Linked DNA regions of Homo sapiens: region 1 is linked to region 2. The links are contacts of gene promoters, found by promoter capture Hi-C in human tissues and cell types (Jung and others, 2019). All regions are on one chromosome and are shown on one strand. The core of a region is centred on a gene start or on the middle of the fragment in contact, and the rest is flanking DNA. Distances in the headings are between cores, read along the strand shown. Region 1 has its middle 40 kb from the start of ATP8B1. Region 2 holds the start of FECH (ferrochelatase).

What was found. Contacts are between HindIII fragments. The study calls those that stand out against the background at their distance.
Region 1: a contact is called between a fragment that was not itself captured here and the fragment with the promoter of FECH in region 2, in 1 of the 25 tissues and cell types used here (aorta).

What each region holds. Positions count from the first base shown.
Region 1 is chr18:57,841,334-57,844,480 of GRCh38, forward strand. No RefSeq gene overlaps it. Among named protein-coding and RNA genes, the nearest start is that of ATP8B1, 40 kb to the left of the region's middle. The HindIII fragment of the contact is 7,328 bases long and covers 1-3,147 here.
Region 2 is chr18:57,584,896-57,588,065 of GRCh38, forward strand. It overlaps FECH (ferrochelatase), which reads right to left and starts at 1,807. Exons shown (of 11, transcript NM_000140.5): 1 at 1,659-1,807. The coding sequence starts at 1,725. RefSeq lists silencers at 1,499-1,548, 1,559-1,618, 1,629-1,988. The HindIII fragment of the contact is 16,879 bases long and covers 1-3,170 here.

The sequences.
Region 1 (3,147 bases), core at 384-2,883, 260 kb after region 2:
AGCCTGGGTGACAGAGCATGACCCTGTCTCAACAGCGTCTCAACAAAACAACAACAACAACGAAACCAAACCAGCCAACCAAACAAAAATAATAAAGTTTAGAATTTGTCTACCTACTTACCTACCTACCTGTATCTATCATCAAAAGTAATTCAGCACAAATTAAAATAAGGAAGTATTTTTAACTTACAGGTTATAGAATGCATTTCCAATGCCACCAAAGATGCAGAGAACCCTCTGTATTGCTGGAGAAAGTGTGAATTGCTACTACTTTTTGGAAAGCATGTTGACAATATATTATGTCCACAGCCTTTAAAAATGTTCACACCTTTTAATGAGTCATTCTACTTTTAGGCATGTATGATATATTTTGAAAACTTTGTAACAATTGACATCCACTGCAGCCACAGTCTAATGGAGGGAAACGGAAACCCAGTCCACCACCTACACAATCTATTCCAACCCCAATTTACCATAAGGTTTTACTTCTGTTATGACTTTTTGCATGCATTTTTTTTAACACGTTGGCTTTCTTGGGAGGGTAAAGTTTTTTCAAGAACTAAGTGTATTTTCAAGAACCCAGCACATAATAGATGCTCTGAATAAATTTTATTCACCAATTTTATTCACTGGCTTACCACGAGCCAGTCCTGTACAGACATTAATTTATTTCAAGACAACCCTATAAAGTAGGCTTTTCTTTCATATTTTATAGGTGAGGAAACTTGAGGCAGAGAGAGAATAAGTAATTAGCCCAAGGTCATACAGCTAGTAAGAAGTGGGGTAAGGTGGGAAGCCAGGCAACCTCTCCTGAGCTCTAGGCTCTTAACTGCCTCTCCAGTGTGAGCAGACAGTCACAAAATGTGCCAGGACTGCACCAGTTGATATACATGTTAATTAAATAAACATGAACCCAGGACGACACTGATAAATAATCATGAGAAAATTAGAGCATTCTCTTAGTGAAACATTATATAATCATTGACATCATGCTTTCAAAACTTACACATTAGTCTGGATAAATGTTTTTAACACTAAGCAAAAATCAGGAGACAGAAGTGTATGTGCAGCATGGTTATACCTAACACAAAATGACTGGAAAGAAACACATCAAAAGTGTCAAGAAGCTGCAAATCAGATGGGCATTCATTCATCTCTCCTTTTCACTGTTAATTTCCATTTTCCTTTAATCAGCCTATTAGTTTGCTACTGCTGCTGTAACAAAGTTCCACAAACTGGGTGACTTAAAACAACAGAAATTTATTCTCTCACAGGAGCCCAGAAATCTGAAATTGAAGTTTGGATAGGATTGGTTCCTTCTGGAGGCTGTTGGGGAGAATCTGTTCTTGCCTCTCTTAGCTTCTGGTGGTGGCTGTCATCCTTGGGGTTTCCTGGCTTGTAGTTGTGTTCCTGCAATCTCTGCTGCTGTCTTCACACGCCCTTCTTCCCTGAGCATCTTCATATGGCCTTCTTGTAAGGAGTAAGTCATTGGATTTGGGTTCAAATCTAACCCAGTATAACCTCATCTTAACTCATTATTCTGCAAAGATCCTTTCACCAAATAAGGTCACATTCCGAGGTTCTGGGTACACATAAATTTTGAGGGGATACTACTTACCCCAGTATAATGAGCAATTTTTTTCTATTATTTTATATTGGAAAAATGTAAACATTAAGAAAATAGAAGCTTGAGCCTAACTTCTATGAAGTTAGGTGGATGATTAAACAGAATCAGAATAGTTGTAACTAAGTGATGGTACAGCTAAAACACTTTTTCCAACATGGTCACAGACATAAAGCAGCATGGCAGCTTAGTACAAATACTAGATCTAGAAACTTCAGCCTGGGTTAGATTCCTGCCTCCCCACCTGCCTTGTGTGCCTTTGGGTGAAGGGCTCAAACATTCTGAAACTTGTCTTCCACTCCTGTACAGAAAGAAAGCTATGGGTATTTTAGACTTCAACTGTTTCTAGCCAGACAACTGGACCTTCCAAGAGGTCCAGCATAAATCATTTCCATGGGGAAGTAAACTTTTTCCTGTCTTTTTCCTCTCACTGGGGCTGGAGAGATGGGAGAAAGGAGTAAAAAATATTTTAAAGCCTTGCATGTTCCCCTGGGAGGCCAGGGTGCAAGAAGAGCTCATGAATGGATATTTGGCTGAGGTGTGACCTGGAGTGTTTTGCATAATGAAGCAAGGCTGGTTGAGCTGGCAGAGATCCAAGGAAGGGGGCTGGAGGGATGAGGGAGTCTGTAATGGGAGTGAGGAGCAGGAGGTCACAGCCACGTGGCAGAAGCCTTGCAGCCTGTGGAGGAAAGCCCACCTAGGGGTGAAGGTTTGCCAAGAAATTCTCAGGACTGAAGGAGAAGGTGCGCACTGTTCAGCATTAGGCTGTTTGCCCAGGAGTGCCATCGCATTCCCCAGTGTGAGAACGGCCACCTCTTGGTCGTTTTCTCAACCTTTGGTGAACACTTATGACATCGTGGGGAGAGATGGAGAAAAGGACTTTGTGTTCTCATCTGGGGCGTCATGCTGGGGCACCCGAACACAGAACCCATGAGTGAGCCTTGAAGGGGCCAACTGAGCCAGAGGAGGTTGGAAGAGCTGCGCCACTCCTGTCCCACTGCAGGTGGGATAGAGTTCCCGCTAATTTCATTTACATTTGTACCTCAAAGCACGAAGTGGTTTAGCTGACTTCTGCTCTTCATGAAGGGCCCAGCTCACATCCTTTAGTAATAATTCAAACATTCTGACTTGCACTGGGCAGCATGTTTATCATAAATGCAAGGACTGCTACTTTGGTGTAGGAAATTATTTAAACGTGTAAACTCTCATATACCAATTTGCAAATCAAACTCTTTTCAAGGCTTTATTTCAATGTCGTTGTTAGCTTTTTTGACTTTTCTCATTTTCCCACTAGTTTGCTTGATTGCACATTATAGAAAATTCACCATTCTCATTCATTCTGATCCCACATTTAGACTTCTCTTTCAAGGACTTGAAAGAATTTATAAATATTTGCAATACAGGATGCAAATTAATCCTTATACACACTTGGAAGGTACCCTGCAATATCTTTCCCCATCTATCACTCACCCACTGTTTATTGCCCTCTGAACAATGTCCAGCCTAGTTCCTTTCTTATTTCG
Region 2 (3,170 bases), core at 557-3,056:
AGCTACCAGGGAGGCTGAGGCGGGAGGATCACTTGATCCCAGGATTTCAAGGCTGCAGTGAACTATGATGGCACCACCGTACACCAGCCTGAGCGACAGAGCAACACTCCATCTCTTAAAAAAACAAAAGAAACAAAACGTTTAAAGTTTGGAAAGAAAAAGGCACCAAGAAAAAAAATAATTCATATAGATAGCTAAACAGACAGATAATATATGGCCCACCCCCGGAAGCTTCTTATTAATTCTGTAATATGCTAAATACATAAAGTATAAAACTTTGCTTTTCCACTTTTACTTTCAGAACTCATTTTCGGAAATAATCCTCAGTGTTTTCTCACACAGAAGTTGATCTTTTCCTATCAACCAAAATGATGAAGTATTATAACTATGCCTTCAAATCAAAGTCTGTAACACAAATAAGACTCCAAATCTACTTCTGCTAGCGTTTCTGAATCTTTCCACTTTTAACCTAGACTACAAATAATTTAAAGTTTCACATATTGTTCCACGACCTCAAATCTAGGACCTGTCAGACTTTATTTGCCACAGGAAAGGTCAGTGAAAGAAAAGATTAGTTCAATACTTCTTTCAGCCCCACGACTGGCACTGTGCTGCCTCTTCTTAAAAAACAATGCCCTTTGTCCCCCAGCGCCCTTAGTGAGCTAGCCTCATTGTACACTGGGTCCTTAGTATTTTCCTAACAAAGGCACGTCTAATGAGATATGGAGGTTCAGAGGGGATTCCCTCCACTCCAAGTAGGTGTCAGACTGACGAACGTCTTAGAAAAATATGTCCGGTCTGTGTCCAGTCACCGTTCGGATGCATTGAATAAGCATCTTATTCGTGGCAGCCTTCTGCATGAATGGCTAGACATCTTGAGGATGCCTGTGTACTACTGTGTGCCAGGCAAGGTGCTCATGTTCAAGGCAAGCCTTAAAAAAAAAATTAGGATTTCAATGTACATTTACCAAAGCTCTGGCGAGGTTAGGTGCCTTGTTCAAGGTGTCACAGTTGGAAATGCTGTCCCAGCCAGGTGTGTGAGATCCACAGTCCCATCAGCTCATCCTGTGGTCACAACCTATTCACGGTTTGCATCAGAAACGTGGGAGGCTGTTCCTGGGTCTTACAAGTTCCCCAGATATCTCTAGAAAACGCTAGCCCAGGCTGCCCCACGGGGGGTCCCGCTGCTAAGGAGAAGTGGGCACAGAGGGACCAAGGACCATGGGCTTTCCTCAGCAGGGAGGGAACTGCAGGGCAGATGTCCATGGTGGTGATGATGAAGATGCCTTCCTTACTATCCTCTATGGCAGGCCCATAACATACCTTCCCTCGCGTAATCTTCTCAACAGCCTGGTTATTGCAGGTGACAATAACCAAGGCTCTGGGAAATTCCAGCCACTGCTCCAAGCCACCCAGCCGACCGATGGGACTTGAACCTGCGCCTCCTGGATCCGGGCGCCCTCCCCGCGGCCTCCCGAGCCCTGAGTGCTGCCCTCAGCCCTCCCTTCTCCGCGACGCCCCTCGCCCGGTTGCTCGCAGCACCCCCAAGGCCGCTCCCCGAATCCCCCGGGCGCGAGGGCCCGGGCGCCAGCTGCCCGCTCTGCCCACGCCTTCTCAGGGATCCTGGCCCTGGCGGCCGCCGCGACAGACCCACTTACGCGGATCGCGGAGCAGGACGCCCGCGGCGCGCAGGGCCGCAGCCATGTTTGCGCCGAGTGAACGCATTGCCTGGGCAGCCTCGGCCCGAGTCCGGGCTCCTCCCGCGGCGGCGCGCCCAGGTGTCCGCCCAGCAGTGGCCGAGCCGGGTAGCGATCCCCACGCGCGTCCCCAGCCCCCTGACCTCGCGCCCTCCCGGCGCGCCCGCTCATTCGCTGCCGGGCCGGGGCGGGCGAGGCCAGGCAGAGACACGCCCCTCGCGGAGAGCCCGCCCCAGCTGGGCGCCGCTCCCTGCGTGAAAATGGGCCCGGGGGCTGAGCTAGAAGCCCGCTCCCCACCACCATCGCAGGTCACTGCAAAACCTGCTGGACTCCTAGTTGCGTGCCCTGTTTGCATCTGCCAAACTAGCGAAGTCAGGATCCTCAGCCATGACTCAGCAAATAACTTTTTTCGACGTTTCCATTACTATTATTTAGATATAAGGATGCTTTTGCCTCAGTTCTCCAGTTTGCCTGCCTAGTCACAACACAAGTGTGCAGATCCTGTTTTGTTTTGCTTTATTTTCAGAATAGAAAAAGGGATTATTCAGTTTCTCTGCACCCTCTCTGTGTAGCAGAATTTGACAGGTGAAACTCACTGAAGAGCATTAGGAAAAGTGAAGGCCAGCCTGGCAAGTGCATTTCTTGGAGGGACGGTATGATGAGGTTTGTCTGTATCATATCCGCGCACCTTCCCAGTTTAGCCGCCCGTCCCGCCCCCAAGGTCGCACACTGAGATCACTGGGAGGAACAGGCGCCCATTTCATTCCTACACCTCCGTCAGCCCACCCTGCCTATATATGTTCAGTGCATTGTGGAGTAGGAAACCAGCCCTTGGTACAGAAAGGTCTCAGGCATCGGTATTCATTGAACAAATATTGAGCACCTACTATGTGCACTGGGAAAACAGTAGTGAAAAGAGTAGACGGGGGCTTACATGGGGTTAGGGGAGACACAGAAAATAATCACAACATGTAATACTTTGAATGATGGAGCCCTTCCACGGCCTCCCCTCTTCTTTTTCCCTCTCAGGACAAAAGAAGAATGAAGCAAGGTAAAAGAGATGGGGTAGGGTGGGGGAAGGGACTAATGCAATTTGAAGCAGGTGGGTCAGAGTCTCACACATTCGAGCAAAGGCCTTATACACATTTGAGCAAAGGGGGCAAGCCATATGGAACATTCAGGGAAGATGGAGTCTAGATTCAGCTGAAACCCAGTTTTCTGTAGCTTAAATATGTGCTACTGATGGAATTAGTTTATTTCTTATTAAAGTTGGTCCTCCTGATGGTTATAAGCCCAATGCAAAATGTCAAATTAAATGGATAGCCTTTCATATTACCTACATGATCTTCATATCCAAGCGGATGTCCTGAGAAAAGCACAGTAAAACCTGCTCCAGGTATCAACCCACCTTCCTTATATGTGTGGCTATTCTCTACCCTCATAAAAAAATTATAGTCTTCTTAAGTTGCCCTG